Regions from separate parts of the Homo sapiens genome. Here region 2 is linked to region 1. Evidence: promoter capture Hi-C in 16 types of primary human blood cells and fetal thymus (Javierre and others, 2016). All regions are on one chromosome and are shown on one strand. Each heading gives the region's core, a stretch centred on a gene start or on the middle of the fragment in contact. The rest is flanking DNA. Distances are from core to core; before and after follow the strand shown.

Region 1 (4,414 bases), core at 1,174-3,673:
CAGTGTGGGATGAAGGGCAGATCACAGGGTCTACAAAAGCCACTTAAAGAGGTTGTAACACTAATAAAAACAAGAAGCCAGAAAGGCTTTGAGCTGAGGAATGGCAATGTGACTTCCGTTTCCTACGGATCACTTTGGCTACCGTAAGAACAGATGGCAGGGTGGGAAGGGTGGGAGCAGGGGCATCAGCAGGGAGAAGGCTGTAATAATCCAGGAAACAGGTTTGGCCATTTACCCCAAAATGCTGGAAATGGGCATGGACAGAAGTAACAGGAATCACATGCAGGGACACACAATTGCTTGGTTCTTACCCAAATTCCCTTCTCTTTGGCTTGTTGTCCCCATCACCCAAAACTTTTCTTCCCTTAGGAAGTGGAAAGTATCTCCATGGAATGGTTGATGCCCTGTGAACAGGCAAAGTCACATGCTTAATCCCAACATGTTCAAGGTAATATCATGTTGGTGCAAACGTAATTGCAGTGTACCATTACTTCCAATGACAAAAACCACAATTACTTTTGCACCAACCTAATAGCCAGGCAAAATTTACTGGAAATGTAGGTTCTCACTGCACACTCAAACTTGAAAACCCTAGGATTAAAAAACCACTCCTGGGGCCTGACATTCCATTACAGGGGGTGCCCGTCCTCACCCACTGAGAGCAGGTTCCTGAAGTTCTCAAGCATCACATCTCGGTACAGCTTCCTCTGGGCAGGGTCCAGCAGCCCCAGCTCCTCCTCAGTGAAGATCACAGCCACATCCTTGAAGGTCACTGCCTCCTACAACATCAAGCAGATGTCACCTCAATCTTACGGCCAAAGACTATTGGGAGACAGCAGCATTGCACTGGCACAAGGGACAAGTGTAAAGTTGTTTTGGATCTTGAGAGACATAGGTCAGCTTATAGATTTCCTACTTATTCTGTTTGTGTCCTGACAATGACTGATTAGGCAATAGGGGTTTGGAATGGAGACTGCACACACCAGTCAACAGGGTGTGTCCTGAATAAATAGTGGGTAAAGGACATTTACTGAGATGCTATCTCTAACTCCACTTCAGGAAAGCTTGCTGCAGAGTTAGAGTGATATAGTCCAAATGCTCTGTTTGAGTCGCGGGCCCTTTGACGAAAATGAGACTGAGGCAGGAGAATCACTTGAACCCGAGAGGCGGAGGTTACAGTGAGCCAAGATTGCACCACTGCACTCCAGCCTAAGCAACAAGAGCGAAACTCTGTAAAAAAAAAAATATATATATATATAGAGAGAGAGAGAGAAAGAAAATAGTAGATAAGGTTAAAAAAATTAAAAAGCAAAAAGCAAACAAACAAAAACTCCTATAGAAGTCCAAGCCCCTGAGCCTTGCCTCAAGGTGCCTTCAATCAAGTCCTAACTTACGTTCTCCACCTGTTCCCAGCTAGTACCTCTGCCTCAATGAGAATTGCATTCAAGAGATGATCAACTCAGGCTCTAACCTGGACTGCCTAGGTTTCAACTCCTGCTCCACCTGTGTCTCACGCCCATCTTTAAAATGAAAAAAGCAGCACCTCTCCACAGTGCCACTGTGAAGATCATGTATTTTGGGGTATAAAGTACTTGGAATAAAGTTACCAATTAAGGCTTAATCATTATCGACACCCATGCCCGAGGGACAAATCCTACACACTCTCGGTTGAGGTAAGCATCTCTGTCAAAGAAAAAAAGCCAAGGATCACTCACGTAGAGCTTTGCCATCAGTAGCCAAGAAGTCCCTTCCTGCAGCTCTTTTAGAAAGGTCGGGCTGGGGAAAAAGAAAGCTGTGAAACACCCTGACCGTTTTGCCGTCCCCCATAAAAGTTAAATGCTCCCCTCACTTTCCTAAAAAGAGGTCAGAAGGCGTCAGGGATCATCCAGCGTCCTGCAGGGATCAGGCAGAAGGGCCGGCGCCCCTGCAGCTGGAGCTCTGACCCCACCAGAGGACCTGACAGGCTTCGTGGGAAATTAACAAGAGACCACCAGACACCGAGTGACAGGGACTGCTTTTAAGGCTCTCATTTGTGTTACCTCTTTCAGGTCCCAAAATGAATCCATTAGGATGGTCCGAAAAGTCCCGTTACAAAACAAACAAACAAACGAACCAGCAATGGAAGATAAACGGACATTAAGTGACACTCCACACCACACTGAAAGGGGCTGCACACGTAGGGAGGAGGGAGGCGGACTAAGCGAGGTCAAAGTAGGGCACACCGGGCCGCGCCAATCCCACTCCCTGAGACCCTAGCAGAGCCCCCCGACGCCAGAAGGCTCAGCTGACTGGAACGGCAATCCCCGCCCGCGCCCCTCCAAACCTCTGCTCTCCGCCCAGGCTTCTTTTCTCCTGAATCGATCATTGGGTGGTTGCGAGCCCCAAGGAAAGGAGACTCGTTCGGAAGGACTCGCAAGATGTGGAAATGACTCAAACTACTGTGGTAAATGAAATAGCAACGTCACAGTTGGGGACCGGAAGTGCTCGAGCCTCCACAGAGCGTGTGGACTCCACTTCCCAGAATTCCCCGGACTCGCCCGTGTGAGACAAAGGGCCCGCGACTCAAACAGAGCATTTGGACTATATCACTCTAACTCTGCAGCAAGCTTTCCTGAAGTGGAGTTGGAGATAGCATTTCAGTAAATGTCCTTTACCCACTGCTTATTCGGGACACACCCTGTTGACTGGTGCGTGCAGTCTCCATTCCAAACCACTATTGCCATTCCTATCGCTTCCATAAAGCCTAAGAAATCAAATATTTTCTTTCTCTGCCTTCATCTAGCTAGAAATTTTCATGGGACACAATTTTGGGAAGTGAGACATTAGGAGAAGTGAGCTGTCCTCTCCTGACAAGAAATGTGCTTGGCAGGCTGTGAGTACACGAGGAGTTGAAAGAGTAAAAAGGTGATCGTCTCAGTGGACTGTAGGTATTGGCGAGGTTCTAATATTACTGATGCTAGCATGCTGGTGGGACCAAGGTGGAAATACAAGTCAAAGTTGTTGGAGAGTAGTGCTGCAAATTATTATGGAGGAATATTTGCTAGAAAATGACGAGGTCTAAAATATGACCATGGGAGAGAGTGTCCCTTGATATTTCACATGAATCTCAGGTGGATTTTTTCATTTCTGAGAAAAATGTTACTGTGATTAAGGATTGCATTGAATCTATAGATATAGGTATTGACAGCCTTGCAATATCAAGTCGCCCAATCCATTAATAATGGATATATCTCCATTTATTTGCGCCTTCTTTAATTTTTTTTTTTTTTTTTTTGAGACAGAGTCTCACTCTGTCGCCCAAGCTGGAGTGCAGTGGCACAATCTTGGCTCACTGCAACCTCCGCCTCCTGAGTTCAAGCGATTCTCCTGCCTCAGCCTCCCAAGTAGCTGGGATTACAGGCACGTACCACCATACCTGGCCAATTTTTGTATTTTTAGTGAAGACAGGGGTTTCACCAGGTTGGCCAGGCTGATCTCGAACTCCTGGCCTCAAGTTATTCGCCTGCCTGGGCCTCACAAAGTGCTGGGATTACAGGCATAAGCCACCATGCCTGGGGTGCCTTCTTTAATTTTCTTTAGTAAGATGTTGCAAAATTCAGTGTCCAAGTGTTTCTTGTCATTGGTTAAGACAGTTCCTAAGTAATTTATTTATTTAATGCTATTGCAAAGGGAACTATTTTCCTTTTCAGATTAATTGTTTTTGTATAGAAATACAACTGCTTCTTCTATGTAGATATTTTTCCTGCAACTTTCTGACTTTACTAGCTCTAAGAGTTTTTTTTTCTTGTGAATTCTTTAGAATTTTTATATATAAGAACATGTCATTAGCATATAGACAATTTTACCTCTGTTTCCAATTTTAATAGCTTTATTTTCTTTTTCTATCTAATTGTTCTGCATAGAACTTCCAATACTACATTGACTAAATGTGGGAAAAGTGGAGAAAACTCATTGTGTTCCTGATATTAGAAGAAAAGCTTTCAGTCCTTCACCATTGAGTATGACAATCAGCTCTGAGAATTTCCATATATAGCCTTTATTTTGCTGGGGTAGTTTATTCTCCTTCTAGTTATTTGGTATTTCAATCATGAAAAGGTGCTAGGTGCTGAATTTTGTGAAACTGAATGTTCTGCATTCACTGACATGATGTGATTTATACCTTCCACTCTGCTCATGTGGAGTATTACATTGATATTTGTATGTTGAACCATAATTATATTCGCCTTCCAGGAATAAAACAGTTCGGTCACTAAGTGTAATCCTTTTAATATGCTGCTGGATCTTGCTGGTATTTTGCTGGTGAATTCTTGCATCAGTATTCATAAGGGATATTGGTGTATAATTTTATTGAATTGTCTTTTTCTGGTTTGGCATCAGGGTAATACTGACCTGACAGAAGGATCAAAGAAGTGTT
Region 2 (4,414 bases), core at 854-3,353, 7.5 Mb after region 1:
CCCTGGCCCATGTCCGGGGTTTTTATTGACGATCAGTCATGTGGGCATGAAGGTTCTGTGCACTGACCTTACCTACTTAGTCAAGCCTACCCAGAAGTCAGATGGATACAGGTATTTACCATAAACCACATTGTTAACAAAAGCCATCTGGCATGGCTAAGACCTCAGATATACATAGACTCTGTTAATCAGGCAGGATACTCTAACTGCTCAGAGATTATCTCCCAGGAGCTGGTCAAGGACAATTTCTTCTTTGGAATGTGCAGGGTTTGAGCACTCTGAGCCAATTCTTCATTTTTTTCTTTTTCTTTTTGTTTTGCAACAAGAGTCTTGCCCTGTCACCCAGGCTGGAGTGCAGTTGTGTGATCTTGACTCACTGCAACCTCTGTGCCTCCCAGGCTCAAGCAATTCTCATGCCTCAGCCTCCTGAGTAGCTGGGACTACAGGTGTGCACCACTGCACTCAGCTAAATTTTTTTTTTTTTTAGTAGAGACAGGGTTTTACCATGTTGGCTAGACTAGTCTGGAAATCCTGGCCTCGTGTTGTTTGCCCGCCTCAGCCTCTCTAAGTGCTGGGATTACAGGCATGAGCCACCACACCCAGCCAGTTTTTTAAAAAGTAATTATTTCTCTTTGTTGATATCTCACTTATTTATATGTCATTTTCGTGATTTCCTTTTTAGTTCTTTCTCTGTTTTCCTTTAGCTCTATGAGCATATTTAAGACAGTTTTTACAAAGCCTTTTTCTAGTTACTCCAATGCTTTTGTTTCTTCAAGTGTAATTTATTTTGCTCCTTTGATTGGACCCTGTTTTCCTGTGTCTTTGTATGCCTTGCAGTCTTTTGTTGAAAACTGGGCATTTGAAGAAACAGCTACTTCTCCTAATTTTTGCAGACCGTTGGAGATCTTCACTAATTAGGGCCTTGGGATCATCTCAGGGTGAAAGTCTAAGGTCTTACGTTTTTCCTGGGTCTGTAGCATGCCTGTGCCTATACCTGTGTATATGCTTTTACCAGTTTCCCTAATATGCATAGCTGCTTTCAAATGCCTTAATTTCATAGGGTCTCACCCTTGCTTCTTAGGCCCTAGATGTTATATTTTTCCACCTGTAATCGTTTGCTCCAAGTATCCACAGGTGTCCAGGCAATTAAAATATCATTGAGTTTTGCATACTGATCTTATATCCTGCAGTGCTGCTGCACTTATTTCTAGTTTTAATAGTGTTTTAGCTTTGATGCACCACAGTGCCCACCACTGTCCTTTGTGGCCTTTACCTGCCTGAGATCTGAGCTGTGCAGCCTTTTACATGTTGAAACTCAAAAGTCAGAGTGGCTCACACCTGTAATCCCAGCACTTTGGGAGGCCAAGGCAGGCAGATCACTTGAGGTTAGGACTTCGAGACCAGCCTGGCCAACATAGTGAAACCCTGTCTCTATTAAAAGTACAAAAATTTGCCAGGCGTGGTGGTGTGCACCTGTAATCCCAGCTGCACAGGAGGCTGAGGCAGGAGAATTGCTTGAACCTGGGAGGCAGAGGTTGCAGTGAGCCGAGATCATGCCACTGCACTCCAGCCTAGATGACAAAGTGAGACTCTGTGTAAAAAAAAAAAAAAAAGAAAGAAAATCAGATAAAACAGAAACCAGTACCTCAGTACCTCAAGGAGCCCACAGACAGATTAGCATGTTCCAAATAAGCTCTGCTTTGTTCCTTCTGGCCTGAAGGAGGGAAATGGGAACTGGGCTGCTTCTTCCATGCTGCACTAGAGATGGAGTAAGAGCACAAGTAACATAATCAACAAATTCACTACCATTTTGAATGTGACTTTCTCCTGACTGGGCATTTGTTTGATAGTTACAGTCTTTGAGTGATTTCCAGACCCTTACAAAGATATTTTAGCTAGTCTCTAGTTGTTTTTTAAGTGTTTCAATAGAGAATAGGGAATTGAAGCTTCCTCAGCTGCCATCTTGCTGATGTTATTCTCATGGTTCTGTTATTATTTTCCTATTGTCTAATGATTTTCAGCATCTTTCCATGTACTTGTTGACCATTTGTTCATCTTTTATGAAGAAATGTCTACTGAAGTCTTTTGCCAGCTTTTAACTTGGGCTGTTTGTCTTTTTGTTGGGCTGAGTTGTAGGAGTTTTTATATATTCTGGATGTTAAATGCTCATGAGATATATGATTTGCAGATATTTTTTCACATCGTGCAGGCTGTCTTATCAGTTTCTTCTATAATGATTTTTTGATGCACAAAAGCTTTTAGTTTTGATACATCCTAATTCATCAAAATTTTCTTTTGCTGCTTATCCTTTTGGTGTCATCATTTAAGAATCCATTGCCAAATATAGGCCAGATGCAGTGGCTCAGACTGTAATCCCAGCACTTTGGGAGGCAGATATGGGTGGATCACTTGAGGTCAGGAGTTTGAAACCAGCCTGGCCAGCATGGTGAAACCCCGTCTCCTACTAAAAATACAAAAATTAGCCAGGCATGGTGGCAGGCACCTGTAATCCCAGCTACTCAGGAGGAGGCTGAGGCAGGAGAATCACTTGAACCTGGGAGGTGGAGGTTGCAGTGAGCCGAGATGGCGCCACTGCACCCCACTCTGGGTGACAGAGTGAGACTCCATCTCAAAAAAAAAAGAATCCATTGCCAAATATAAGTTCATGATGACTTACCCCTACATTTCCTTCTAAGAGTTTTATAGTTTTAGCTCTTATATTTGGGTCATTGATCTGTTTTCAGTTACTTTTTTTATGTGTTATTAAGGAGTGATGCAATTTCATTCTTTTGCATGTGGATATTCAATTTTTCTGGCACCATTTGTTGAAAAGACTGTTCTTTCCTCTATTTCATTAGATTGGCACCCTTGTCAAAAATCACTTGACCCTAGCTACACTGGTTTAAATTTTCACTCAGTTCTATTCCATTGATGAATATATCTATCCATATTCCGTGCCCCACAGTCTTGATTATTGTGGTTTTATAGTCAGTTCTGAATTGGGAAATATCAGTCTTCCAGCTTTGTTTTGGCTGAATCTGTTGCAATGTCATATGAATTTTTTTTTTTTTTTGGAGACAGTCTCGCTCTGTTGCCCAGGCTGGAATGCAGTGGCGCGATCTCGGCTCACTGCAACCTCTGCCTCCTTCCAGCGCTTCTCCTGCCTTAGCCTCCCAAGTAGCTGAGACTACAGGTGCCTGCCACCACACCAGGCTAATTTTTGTATTTTTAGTAGAGATGGGATTTTACCATATTGGCCGGGCTGGTCTGAAACTCCCGACCTCAGGTGATGTACCTGTCTTGGCCTCCCAAAGTGCTGGGATTACAGGCATAAGCCACCAGGCCTGGCCCTTTTTTTTATTATTTTTTTGAGACAAGGTATCATTCCATCACCCAGGCTGGAGTTCAGTGGTGCAATCGCAACTCACTGCAGCCTCAACTGCCTGGGCTCAAGTGATCCTCCTACCCCAGCCCCAGCCCTCACACACCCCCGCCCCCCACCTCCCCAACAGCTAGGACCACAGGTGAGCACCACCATGCCTGGCTAATTTTTTGTATTTTTGGTAGAGACAAGGTTTCACCATGTTGGCCAAGCTGGTCTTGAACTCCTGGGCTCAAGCGATCTGCCTGCCTCAGCTTCCCAAAAGTGTTGGGATAAGTGGTATGAGCCACTACACCTGGCTTTCTTTTGGTTTTAATTAACTTATTGTACTGTACCATTTTAATTCCCTTGTCATTTCTTTTATATAAGCTGATTGTTTTCTTAGCATGTGTTCTGAAGATTACAGTGAATATTTTACATTTACAAATAACTGGTTTGAATTTATAGACTTTGGTCATGGAACTCCAAGACCACTTTCAGGTTCACTGACTGCTAGATGGACTCACACAACTCAGAAAAGTGTTGTTGTTGTTGTTTTCCCACTAGTGAAAGGATCACATTAAAATTAATGAAAGCTGGCTATTCCGGGGCCAGAATTTATCTTCTAGGTGTTAGTCAAGGGCTACAACTTTCTTTGGAATAGGCAGGGTTTAAACATTCCAGACACTACTGCACTCCAGCCGGGGCAAAAGAGTGAGACCCTGTCTCAAACAAACAAAATTCCAGACCTGTTGAATCAAAACTGTGCTGCATACTCCTTAGCTTTAATACTATATCCAAAACTCTGTTCCTATACAGTTCTGCTCCTCTTCATGTTGTTTTGTCACAGATTACATTTTTATACATTGTGTGCTCTTTAACATTGGTTTATAATGACTGTTTTACACGTTAGTCTTTTAAATCATATTGGGGAAATAAAGAGGACCTGCAAGCCCAAGATGCAATAGACTTTTGTATTTGCCTATTTAGGTACCTTTATCGTTGTTTTCTTTTCTTTCTTTTTTTTGAGACAGAGTCTCACTCTGTCGCCCA

The links. The method cuts DNA at HindIII sites, captures the fragments that hold promoters and counts their contacts. A CHiCAGO score of 5 or more calls a contact.
Region 2: a contact is called between a fragment that was not itself captured here and the fragment with the promoter of ZNF222 in region 1, in 1 of 17 cell types (total CD4 T cells). The highest score is 5.4, in total CD4 T cells.

Annotation. Positions count from the first base shown.
Region 1 is chr19:44,023,388-44,027,801 of GRCh38, reverse strand. ZNF222 (zinc finger protein 222) reads right to left here and starts at 2,423. Exons shown (of 4, transcript NM_001129996.2): 1 at 2,324-2,423; 2 at 653-779; 3 at 312-404. The coding sequence starts at 2,365. It overlaps ZNF222-DT (ZNF222 divergent transcript), which reads left to right and starts at 2,520. Exons shown (of 3, transcript NR_184028.1): 1 at 2,520-2,687; 2 at 2,783-2,904; 3 at 3,903-4,414. RefSeq lists enhancers at 2,128-2,177, 2,408-2,457. The HindIII fragment of the contact is 1,542 bases long and covers 1,067-2,608 here.
Region 2 is chr19:36,565,674-36,570,087 of GRCh38, reverse strand. All of the region lies in intron 2 of ZNF529 (zinc finger protein 529), which reads left to right. Among named protein-coding and RNA genes, the nearest start is that of ZNF529, 5.4 kb to the left of the region's middle. The HindIII fragment of the contact is 309 bases long and covers 1,949-2,257 here.